Regions from separate parts of the Homo sapiens genome. Here region 1 is linked to region 2. The links are contacts of gene promoters, found by promoter capture Hi-C in human tissues and cell types (Jung and others, 2019). All regions are on one chromosome and are shown on one strand. The core of a region is centred on a gene start or on the middle of the fragment in contact, and the rest is flanking DNA. Distances in the headings are between cores, read along the strand shown. Region 1 holds the start of FARSA (phenylalanyl-tRNA synthetase subunit alpha). Region 2 overlaps ZNF791 (zinc finger protein 791).

Evidence for each region. The method cuts DNA at HindIII sites, captures the fragments that hold promoters and counts their contacts. A contact is called where the count stands out against the background at its distance.
Region 1: a contact is called between the fragment with the promoter of FARSA here and a fragment that was not itself captured in region 2, in 1 of the 25 tissues and cell types used here (spleen).

The regions. Positions count from the first base shown.
Region 1 is chr19:12,929,477-12,935,706 of GRCh38, forward strand. It overlaps FARSA (phenylalanyl-tRNA synthetase subunit alpha), which reads right to left and starts at 4,235. Exons shown (of 13, transcript NM_004461.3): 1 at 4,074-4,235; 2 at 1,136-1,273; 3 at 953-1,051; 4 at 747-865. The coding sequence starts at 4,220. It overlaps FARSA-AS1 (FARSA antisense RNA 1), which reads left to right and starts at 1,046. Exons shown (of 3, transcript NR_149078.1): 1 at 1,046-1,070; 2 at 3,494-3,561; 3 at 3,673-3,820. RefSeq lists enhancers at 3,838-3,907, 3,918-4,417, 4,139-4,433 and a silencer at 5,470-5,575. The HindIII fragment of the contact is 13,322 bases long and covers 1-6,230 here.
Region 2 is chr19:12,625,531-12,631,572 of GRCh38, forward strand. It overlaps ZNF791 (zinc finger protein 791), which reads left to right. Exons shown (of 4, transcript NM_153358.3): 4 at 2,191-6,042. The coding sequence ends at 3,730. Among named protein-coding and RNA genes, the nearest start is that of ZNF791, 18 kb to the left of the region's middle. The HindIII fragment of the contact is 6,065 bases long and covers 1,546-6,042 here.

The DNA of each region.
Region 1 (6,230 bases), core at 2,985-5,484, 300 kb after region 2:
GATTACAGGCATGAGCCATCGTGCCTGGCCCCTTTTTCTTTGAGATGGGGGTCTCTCTATGTTGCCCAGGCTGGCCTTGAATTCATGGATTCAAGTGATCCTAACACTTCAGCCTCCTGAGTAGCTGGGATTACACACGTGAGCCACACACTTGGCCCAGGCTATTTTATAGATAAGGAAACGGAGACCAGCAAAGGCCAGGTGACTTGGCCAAGGTCATAAAACTAGTTAAGTGACAGAGCCCGAACTTCAGTTAGGCATCCCAGCTCTAGTCTCTTCTCTCTGCCACTCTGTGTCTGCTCAAAGGGGACATTTGTCCTGTGAGAGGACGGCCCCTAGCCCATCTAGGTTCCAGAGGCCTGTCTGGTGTGTGTTCATTAAACTTTGGACCACACTAAGGACAGTGAAAGAAATGAACAAGCACCAAAGATGAAGACTAGGGGCGATGGGCTTCATGGAACTCAAGGGGAGAGGAGGGCTGTCAGGGTGGCCTCTTTAAGGGGACACAGGAGAGAGACTTGATGAGGAGCCTATCTTGAAGATCAGAGGGAAAACAGTTCTCAGCAGAAGGGTCCTCATGGGCAAAGACCCCAAGGCACGTAGGCTTGACAACTATGGCATTAAGCGAGCTGGGAGGAAACTGGCCACACCTGTGCTTGGTGTGGGCAAGATGTCTCCCTCCCACCATGCCTCCACCATGCTTCGCAGGTGGTGGGGGCCTGAGCCTGCAGGGGGCACCCACTCACACTTCAGCCAACAGCTTCCTCTTCCTCAGCTCGCTCCTCTCCTTCTCCCCCAGCTTCTCAGCCTGTCCCCCCCGGACCAGCTGGAGCCGCCGCTGCACCTCATCCTCCATGCTGTCCACCTGCCAGGATAAGGAGTGTGAGGGGTATGAGGGCCAGGGGCCCATGTGCCCGTCCACCTGCCCCCTGACCAGCCCGCAGGAACGCACCACTCGGAACACCCGGGGCCCGTCAGCCGCACTCTTGTCCACCCGAATCCACTTGTTGGACATGGCCTTGCTGAAGCCCACTTTGCCACTGGGCAGTCGCTGGAAAAGAGAGGCTGCAGTGAGTGGGGCACGAGGGCCACCTTCATCCCATCACTCACTCCCCATTCACCCCGCAGCTCCTACCATAAGCTCGCTCTGGGCCAGGCCCTCTGGGGGAATGCTTCGAAACACACGGGCCTCATGGCTGCCCTCCCGGGCAATCTCCTCGCCCTCCGCAGTAAGCTCCCAGTGCTTGGTGGACCGAAGTTCAGCCTCGATGACCTAGAGGGAAATGTGGGGAGGGTGTCCAGGCAGGGGTGAGGCTCAGAGCCAGGCACCCCCTTTCTGCAGCGCTGGGTCCCAGGTTGAAAGCACAGCCCTTAAAGCTAGGTTCACATCCCAGCTATACAACTTTACAGCCAAGTGGTCTCAAGGGAAAGACTTCCCCTTGCTGTGTCTCCATTTCCCTTATGTAACACAGGGGTAGTAATAATGATAGTTTACACCTCCCAGGGTAAAGTACACCACTAAAGATGTTACCTGGCAGAAGACAAATTCTGTCGGTTTTGAACCTGTGACAGATTTTAATGTGAAAAATTAGGTGAACTGATATGTCTCCACATTTTTTTGTTTGTTTTTGTTTTCTTTGAAAGGGGGTCTCACCCTGTCACTAGGCTGGGTGCAGTGGTGTGATCATAGCTCACTGCAGCCTAGACCTCCTGGGCTCAAGCGATCCTTCCGCCAGTCCCGAGTAGCTGGGACTACAGGCATGTGCCGCCACACCTGGTTAATTTTTAAATTACTTTTTTTTTTTGAGACGGAGTCTTGCACTGTCGCTCAGGCTAGAGTGCAATGGTGCGATCTCGGTTCACTGCAACCTCTGCCTCCCGGGTTCAAATGATTCTCCTGCCTCAGCCTCCCGAGTAGCTCGGATTACAGGTGCCCACCACCACCCCCAGCTAATTTTTGTATTTTTAGTAGAGATGGGGTTTCACCATGTTGGCCAGGCTGGTCTCAAACTCCTGACCTCGTAATCGGCCGACTCCGCCTCCCAAAGTGCTAGGATTACAGGCGTGAGCCGCCGTGCCCGGCCCTTTAAATTACTTTTTAAAGACAGGGTGTTGTTATGTTGTCCAGGCTGGTCTCAAACTCCTGGCCTCAAGTGATTCTCCTTCCTCAGCCTCCCAAAGTGCTGGCATAATGGGCATGAGCCACCATACCCAGCCTGTCTCCATGTTTAAATGTTCACATGTCAGTGCCCAGAATGTCAGAGACGGGCCCTGGAGGTCCACATTACAAACAAAAACTGAGGTTCCAGGTCCAGAGTCATGAAGACAAGGACAACAAGGGTAAGTAGAGTGCACAGGGCCTGGCTCCCACTTCATTCTAATCCCAACTCTGCCCTTCACTTACTGTGTGACCTCAGGAAAGTTGCTTAACCTCTCAGTGACTCTTCTCATCCATAAGAGAAAGGTGTGATGGGTTCTACCTCAGATGATTTTAAGGAGTAGCTAAATTAATACTCAGAAAGAATATATAGTGCCTACCACGTGACAAACACTGCATAAATTTTTTTTTTTTTTTTTTTTGAGACGGAGTCTCGCTCTGTCGCCCAGGCTGGAGTGCGATCTCGGCTCACTGCAACCTCCACCTCCCGATTCAAACAATTCTCTGCCTCAGCCTCCCAAGTAGCTGGGATTACGGGTGCCCACCAACACGCCTGGCTAATTTTTTTTTGTATTTTTAGTAGAGACAGGGTTTCATCATCTTGGCCAGGCTGGTCTTGAACTCCTGACCTCGTGATCCACCCGCCTTGGTCTCCCAAAGTGCTGGGATTACAGGTGTGACCACTGCACCCGGCATAAATTCTAATTACTATAATTATTTTTATGGCTATTACTGTCATTAGATTGAACCTCACCTCCTTATATTATTTAACCCTCTGTGACGTATACAAATGTCAGATCATATTGGTCAAGGCACTGTCACCCCACACAACACAGCTGCCATCTCTCCTCTGCATTGAGGACTATGGGCTCTGCAGCCTGAGTGCCTAATTTCAAATCTGGGCTCATCGGCCTCTTCTATTCACACTGATTATGTTACTGACCATCAGTTGTCACATCTGCAAAATGGGAATAACATGGCCATCAGCCAGGATTATGGAATGGATTGGACAAACAAGCTGAGACCAAAGTGGGGCACAGAACATGAGCTCTACGGATAAACAGCCCAGATCCTGGCCCCATGGATCTAGCCTTCTGGGTGGCCCACGGGCCCCTCAGCATCCTACGCCTGTGACTCTGTCACTGTCCACTTGCCCAAGTCAGAAGGCTGGACTTCATCTGTGCGCCCCCTGCCTTGTCCTGAATCCCACGCCTTCCCCACCTCCCCCAAGCTTCCTTCCCATAGCCAGACATCATGCCCTCCAGCTTGGGGAAGTGCCAGCTTCTTCTTTCATCCCTTCACCTCCAGTCCTGTCCATGCCAATTCTTCCCAAAGGTGATGTGGATAGCACACTCATCTGACCGGCTCTAGCTCCTGCTATCGCTTCCCAGTTCCCTCATGAGGTAAAGACCTAAGAGGCTTTGCAATTACAGCTATGCTGGTCTCCCTTGCCGCCTGCCATCCCCCAAGATCCCGGCCACTGATCTCTAAAGTGCTATCACTTTCCTCAACAGAGAACAGACTCAGCCGTCACCTGCACCAGGCCGCTCTCCCTGACCCCCAAGGCTGGGTCAGCTGTCACAGCTGGGTCCCCTGTTTTCCCCCATCACTCTGGTTCTTGAAGCACCTTCCTATTACGTCGCAACCTGCGTGAGGGCAGCAACCGCGACTTCCTCGTCCATCATCGTACCCTCTACCCACGCTGACCGTGCCTCAATAAACGTTTATTGCATGAGGAACATCCGTGCGTCTGGGCCCTCACTCGTCCCACTTCCCGCCCGCACATCCCGGAGTGGACACATATACAGCTACCCCAAACTAGGCCTGAGGGAATTTGGCTTGGACGTAGAGCGCCCGTGGCAAGGGGACTGTAGGTGCAAGGGCAAGGCGGTCCGGCATCACGGGCCCGGCTCACCTCGCCCAGCGCCTGAAGGCTCTTCACGGCGCCCACCACCGCCTGGTGCTCCATGCCCAGCTCAGCCGCCAACTCGGCGCTGTCCAGGCCGCCATCAGACGCCTCCAGCCGCCGGAGCAGCAGTTCCGCCACCTGACCATCCGCCATGACTCCTTCCAGTGTGCTCAGCGTGTCCGGGCCCGGGTGGGCGGGGGGAGCTGAGCCACCGGAACCGGAACCGGAGTGTGTACCGCCATCTTGAATGTGTCTAACTGTAGAACAGGGCTCAATGTGTCGTCATCTTGAGTGTGGCGACGGAGCCGCAAAAGGTGCATGGGACTCAGTTCCCACCTCCACCCTGGCTCCATCAATGGCGTCTGGTTGACCAGAGGGGTAAAATTGATTATCTCAAGGTCAGAAGCACCGCCCTGTTTTGAGTTTTATCTAGCCTCACTTCGAGCGGGCTGTGTGACCTTGGACTTCCCCGTCTCTGGGTTACAGAACCCTCTGCCCTTCTGGTATTCTCTCTTGCCCTAGGAGAGGCGGTGGGTGGTGGGCTCCAGAGATGGTCATTTTGGCGATGTCAGCTACTTTTAAAATTTCAAAGGAAGGCTGGGTAGGTACCGTCCCTTTTTATAGAGGGAAAAGGAATTCACCTAGTAAGTCAAGGTGGCACCTAACCTGTGTGGACTACCTCGTATGTGGTAGTACTTAGCCCAGAACTGAGTACTTCACGTGTAGTATTTCATTTATCCCCAAAACTTTATGATGTAGATACTGATATAACCGCATTACACATGTGAGAAAACTGAGGCTCAGAGGGTGGTATGACTTGCCCAAGGTTCTACAGAGAGTTGGTGGAAATGAAGTCATAAATTATAAACCTTCCAGATCCTCCCACCCCTGTGCGCTGAGAGTAACGTCAGTGCAAATACTGCATGGCCTAGATTAGCACTGTCCTATAGAAACACAGTGCAAAACATCTTTCTTTTTTGAGACAGGGTCTTGCTCTGTCACCCATGCTGGAGTGCAGTGGTGCAATTATGGCTTACTGCAGCCTTGACTTCCCAGGCTCTAAGGATCCTCCAACCTTAGGCTCCTGAGTAGCTGGAACTGCAGGTGCGCGCCACCACACCCAGCTTTTTTTTTTTTTTTAAGTATGGGTTTTGGCCATGTTGCCCAGGCTGGTCTCAAACTCCTAGGCTCAGGTTATCCTCCTGCATCGGTCTCCCAAAATGCTGGCATTAGAGGCATGACCCACCTCGCCCAGCCAGCCAGACCCTGACTCTTACAAAAAAAAAGATGACTAATAAAATATTTTGCACTCGGCCGGGCACAGTGGCTCACCTCTGTAATCCCAGCACTTTGGGAGGCCGAGGCGGGTGGATCACCTGAGGTCGGGAGTTTGAGACCAGCCTGACCAACATGGAGAAACCCCGTCTCTACTAAAAATACAAAATTAGCAGGGCGTGGTGGCGCATGCCTGTAATCTCAGCTACTTGGGAGGCTGAGGCAGGAGAGTCGCTTGAACCTGGGAGGCAGAGGTTGTGGTGAGCCGAGATCGTGTCATTGCACTCCAGCCTGGGTGACAAGGCGAAACTCCGTCTCAAAAAAAAAAAAATTGCACTTTTTTTCATACTAAATCTTCAAAATCTGATGCGTATTTTACACTTACAACACATCTCAGTTCGGACCAACCACATTTCAAATGGTCAGTAATCACATGTGGGCAGTGGTGACTTACGTCAGCACAGGTAGATTAGAATCCTAGATCTGCTGGCCAGGCTCAGTAATCCCAGCACTTTGGGAGGCTGAGGCGGGTGAATCACCTGAGGTCAGGAGTTCAAGACCAGCTTGGCCAAGATGGCGAAACCCCATCTCCTCTAAAAACACAAAAATTAGCTGGGTGCAGTGGGGGTGCCTGTAATCCCAGCTACACGGGAAGCTGAGGCAGGAGAATCACTTGAGCCTGGTAGGTGGAGCTTGCAGTGAGCAGAGATCGCACCACTGCACTCCAGCCTCGGTGACAGAGCAAGGCTCTGTCTCAAAAAAAAAAAAAAAAAAAAAAAAGAATCCTAGATCTGTTATTTATGTCATTCAACCAGAAGGTGTAGTCTTTCTGTGCCTCAGTTTCTTGCTCACATGGAGGTGATTGGAGCCCAGGTTACTGTGAGAATT
Region 2 (6,042 bases), core at 3,328-5,827:
TCCCAGCACTTTGGGAAGGTGAGGTGGGCGGATCACCAGAGGTCAGGAGATCAAGACCAGTCTGGCCAACACAGTGAAAACCTGTCTCTACTAAAAATACAAAAATTAGCCGGGTGTGGTGGCACACACCTGTCATCCCAGCTACTCAGGAGGCTGAGGCAGGAGAATCACTTGAACCTGGGAGGCAGAGGTTGCAGTGAGCCCAGATCGCACCACTACACTCCAGCCTGGGCGACAGAGTGAGACTCCATCTCAAAAAAAAAAAAAAAGAAGAAGAAGAAGAAAGAAAAATATTGTACTTGGGAACAGTTTTGTTTGTTTGTTTGTTTTGTGAAACAGAGTCTCGCTCTGTCACCCAGGCTGGAGTGGAGTGGTATGATCTTGGCTCACTGCAACCTCTAACCCCTGGGTTCAAGCAATTCTTCTGCCTCAGCCTCCCAAGTAGCTGGGATTATAAGCGCGCACTACTATACTGGGTTAATTTTTGTTTTGTTTTGTTTTTTTTGAGACGGAGTCTCGCTCTGTCACCAGGCTAGAGTGCTGTGGCGCAATCTCGGCTCACTGCAACCTCCCACTCCCTGGTTCAAGGGATTCTTCTGCCTCCGCCTCCCAGGTAGCTGGGATTACAGGCATGCATCACCATGCCCGGCTAATTTTTGTGTTTTTAGTAGAGATAGGGTTTCACTATGTTGGCCAGGATGGTCACGATCTCCTGACCTCGTGATCTGCCCACCTCGGCCTCCCAAAGTGCTGGGATTACAGGCGTGAGCCACCATGCCCAGCCAATTTTTGTATTTTTTAGTAGAGATGGGGTTTCACTATGTTGGCCTGGATGGTCTCGATCTCCTGACCTCGTGATCTGCCCGCCTCGGCCTCCCAAAGTGCTGGGATTACAGGGGTGAGCCACCATGCCCAGCCAATTTTGTATTTTTTAGTAGAGATGGGGTTTCACCATGTTGGCCAGGCTGGTCTCAAACTCCTGACCCCAATTGATCCACCCACCTCGGCCTCCCAAAGTGCTAGGACTACAGGCATGAGCCACCATGCCAAGGTGTGGAAACAGTATTTTATTTTATTTTTATTTTTATTTTTGAGACGAAGTCTTGCTCTGTCACCCAGGCTGGAGTGCAGTGGTGCCATCTCAGCTCACTGCAAGCTCCGCCTCCCAGGTTCACGCCATTCTCCTGCCTCAGCCTCCCGAGTAGCTGGGACTACAGGCGCCCACCACCACGCCCGGCTAATTTTTTTGTATTTTTAGTAGAGACGGGGTTTCACCCTGTTAGCCAGGGTGGTCTTGATCTCCTGACCTCATGATCTGCCCGTCTCGGCCTCCCAAAGTGCTGGGATTACAGGCGTGAGCCACTGTGCCCGCCCAGAAACAGTACTTTAAAGCCTCACATATAATTTCCGGAAGCCAAGGTGAGCAGATCATTTGAGCTCAGGAGTTCGAAACCAGCCTGGGCAACAAGACGAGACCCTGTCTCTACAAGAAACAGAAAATTCAGTCAGTTGTGGTGGTGCATGCCTGTAGTCCCAGCTACATGGGAGGCTGAGGTGGGAGGATTGATTGAGCCCGGGAGGTCAAGGCTGCAGTGAGCCATGATTGCATCACTGTACTCCAGTGCGGGTGACAGAGTGAGACTCTGTCTCAAAATGAAACCAAAAAAAAAAAAACCCATACCTCAATATTACTGTTTTGATAATAGCTATCAGTGACACAAGCCCTCTTGCAGAACATTGAGTATATTCGTTTTTAAACAAGTCAGACGGGGCAGAAAACTATTTCCCTGAAAATGATAAAAATTTAGTTCTGCTGCCGGGTGCGGTGGCTCACGCCTGTAATCCCAGCACTTTGGGAGGCCAAGGCGGGCAGATCACTTGAGGTCAGGAGTTCAAGACCAGCCTGACCAGCATGGTGAAACCACGGCTTTACTAAAAATACAAAATTAGCTGGGCGTGGTGGCGCATGCCTGTAATCCCAGCTACTTGGGAGGCCGAGGTAGGAGAATTGCTTGAAGCTGGGAGGTGGAGGTTGCAGTGAGCTGAGATCGCACCATTGCACTCCAGCCTGGGGAACAAGAACAAGACTCCGTCTCAAAAAAGAAAAAAGAACTTTAGTTCTACTACCCGATAATACATATAAAATCATTAATACACAACCAGTATTACCGTGCTTCTAATTTTTTACAGAAGCCATACGGGAGAGAGACTCTGTGAAGGTAAAGAAGGTAGTCAATGTGCAGAAAACTTCAGTCCCAATCTCAGTGTGACGAAGAAGACTGCCGGAGTAAAACCATATGAGTGTACTATCTGTGGAAAAGCCTTCATGCGTCTCTCATCCCTTACTAGACACATGAGGTCTCACACTGGATACGAGCTATTTGAGAAGCCATATAAATGTAAGGAGTGTGAGAAAGCCTTTAGTTATCTCAAATCCTTTCAAAGACATGAAAGGAGTCACACTGGAGAAAAACCCTATAAATGTAAACAATGTGGAAAAACCTTCATATATCACCAGCCCTTTCAAAGACATGAGCGGACTCACATTGGAGAAAAACCCTATGAATGTAAGCAATGTGGAAAAGCTCTTAGTTGTTCCAGTTCGCTTCGAGTTCATGAAAGGATTCACACTGGAGAAAAGCCCTATGAATGTAAACAATGTGGGAAAGCCTTCAGTTGTTCCAGTTCTATTCGAGTACACGAAAGAACTCACACTGGAGAGAAACCCTATGCATGTAAGGAATGTGGGAAAGCCTTCATTTCCCACACAAGTGTTCTAACACACATGATAACACACAACGGAGATAGACCTTATAAATGCAAAGAATGTGGAAAGGCATTCATTTTTCCCAGTTTTTTACGAGTACATGAAAGAATTCACACTGGAGAGAAACCCTATAAATGTAAACAATGTGGTAAAGCCTTCAGATGTTCCACCTCCATTCAAATTCATGAAAGAATTCATACTGGAGAGAAGCCCTATAAATGTAAAGAATGTGGGAAATCTTTCAGTGCACGCCCAGCCTTTCGAGTACACGTGAGAGTGCATACTGGAGAGAAACCCTATAAGTGTAAAGAATGTGGGAAAGCCTTTAGTAGAATCAGTTACTTTCGAATACATGAAAGGACTCACACTGGAGAGAAACCCTACGAATGTAAAAAATGTGGGAAAACTTTCAATTATCCTCTAGATTTGAAAATCCACAAGAGAAATCACACTGGAGAAAAACCCTATGAGTGTAAGGAATGTGCAAAAACCTTCATTTCTCTTGAGAACTTTCGAAGACACATGATCACCCACACTGGAGACGGACCTTATAAATGTAGGGACTGTGGGAAGGTGTTCATTTTTCCTAGTGCGTTACGAACACATGAAAGAACTCACACTGGAGAGAAACCCTATGAATGTAAACAATGTGGAAAAGCCTTTAGTTGTTCTAGTTACATTCGGATACATAAAAGAACTCACACTGGGGAGAAACCTTATGAATGTAAGGAATGCGGGAAGGCCTTTATTTATCCCACAAGCTTTCAAGGACACATGAGAATGCATACTGGAGAGAAACCCTATAAATGTAAAGAATGTGGGAAGGCCTTTAGTCTTCACAGTTCCTTTCAAAGACATACAAGAATTCACAATTATGAGAAACCTCTTGAATGTAAGCAATGTGGAAAAGCCTTCAGTGTGTCCACATCCTTAAAAAAACATATGAGAATGCACAATCGATAGAAACTCTATAAATGTGAGAAATAGGAGAAAGTTTTCAATTCTAACAGATGCTTTCAAAGTTGTGAAAATTCCCACTGAAGAGAGAAATCCTGTCAATGTAAGTAATATAGAAAGCGAGATACAAGATGATTCATGTATAGTCAGGTACCACATAATCATGTTTCAGTCAGCAATGGACCATATAGGTTGGTAGCCCCATAAGATTATATAACACCTAAAACATTTCTATCAACCGCAATTTAGTAGCAGTAGTAACACCATAGTGCAGCACATTATTTAAGTGTTTATGGTGCTGGTGTAAACGTGCTGCACTTTCAGTTGTATAAAAGTACAAGACAGCGGCCGGGGACGGTGGCTCACGCCTGTAATCCCAGCACTTTGGGAGGCCAAGGCGGGCGGATCACGAGGCCAGGAGATCAAGACCATCCTGGCTAACACGGTAAAACCCCATCTCTACTAAAAATACAAACAATTAGCCGGGCGTGGTGGTGGGCGCCTGTAGTCCCAGCTACTTGGGAGGCTGAGGCAGGAGAATGGCATAAACCCAGGAGGCCGAGCTGACAGTGAGCTGAGATCCGGCCAACAGAGCGAGACTCTGTCTCAAAAAAAAAAAAAAAAAAAAAGTACAACACAGCTGGGCATGGTCACACCTGTGATCCCAACACTGGGAGACTAAGGCAGTAGGATTGCTTGATGCCAGGACTACTCTGGTCAACCTAGTGAGACCCTGTCTCTACAAAAAATAAAAACATTTTCTAAGTGTGGTAGCACACCCTGTAGTCCCATCTACATGGGAGGCTGAGGCAGGAGGATTGCCTGAGCCCAGGAGTTCAAGGCTACAGTGAACCAAGATCACGTGATGGCAGTCCAGCATGGGTGACAGTGAGACTGTATCAAAAAAAAAAAAAAAAAATTGGCTGGGCACAGTGGCTCATACCTGTAATCCCAGCACTTTGGGAGGCTGAGGTGGGAGAATCAGTTGAGGTCAGGAGTTCAAGACCAGCCTGGTCAACATGATGAAACCCTGTCTCCATTAGAAATACGAAAATTAGCTGGGCGTTCTGGTGTGCCTGTAGTCCCAGCTACTTGGGAGGCCAAAGCAGGAGAATCGCTTGAACCCGGGAGGTGGAGATTGCAGTGAGCTGAGATCTACCACTACACTCCAGCCTGGGTGACAGAGCGAGACTCCGTCTCGAAAAAAAAAAAATTACAGCACAGATGTGCAATATATACTTGATAATAAATGGCTAAGTTACTGGTTTATATATTTACAATCCTGTTTTAGAATGTATTCCTGTGTTTTTTTAACAGTAAGACAGTCTCAGGCAGGTCCTTAAGGAGATATTCCCGGAAAAACTTTGTTATGATAGGCGATGACGGCTCCATGTGCAGGACTGCCCCTGAACGTATTCTGGCGGGACAAAACATGGAGGCAGAAGACAATGATATTGATGATCCTCACCCCGTGTAGTCCTACACTAATGTGTGTTTGTGTCTTAGTTAGTCTTTAACAAAAATAGTTTAAAAAAATTTAATAGAAAAAGCTTATAGAATATGGACATAAAATATTTTTGTACAGCTGTACAATGTGTTTTAAGCTAAATTATTACAAAGTTTTTAAAAATAAGTTTATAAAGAAAATAATGTACAGTAAGTTAAGGTTTATTCATTATTGAGGAAAAAATGTTTTTATGAATGTAGTGTAGTCCAAGTGTACAGTGTTTATAAATTCTCCATTAGTGTACAGTAACATCCTGGGCCTTCGCATTCACTCACCACTCAACTGACTCACCCAGAGCAACTTCTAGTCCTGCAAGCTATGTTCATGGAGTGTCCTATGCAGGTGCATCCTTTTTTATCTTTTATACTGCATGTTTACTCTGTGTATTTTCTGTGTTTAGACTCATAAATACTTAACATTTTGTTACAATTTCCTACAGTGTTCAGTACAACAACATGTTGTATGGTTTATAGCCTAGTAGCAATAGACTGTACCATATAGTCTAGATGTGTTGTAGCTATACCATCTAGATTTGTGTAAGTTCACTTTGTGATGTTTGTACCATGAGGAAATCACCTACAACACGTTTCTCAGAACATATACCCATGATTAAGCAATCTCTGCCTGTAAAATGCTCCAGAAAATTCACACCATGATATAAATTCATCACACACGATATAAAAGTTAAGGCAAGGCATGGTGGCTCATGCCTGTAATCCCAGCACTTTGGGAGGCCAAGGCAGGCAGATCACCTGAGGTCAGGAGTTCGAGACCAGCCTGGCCAAGACGGTGAAACCCCATCTCTACTAAA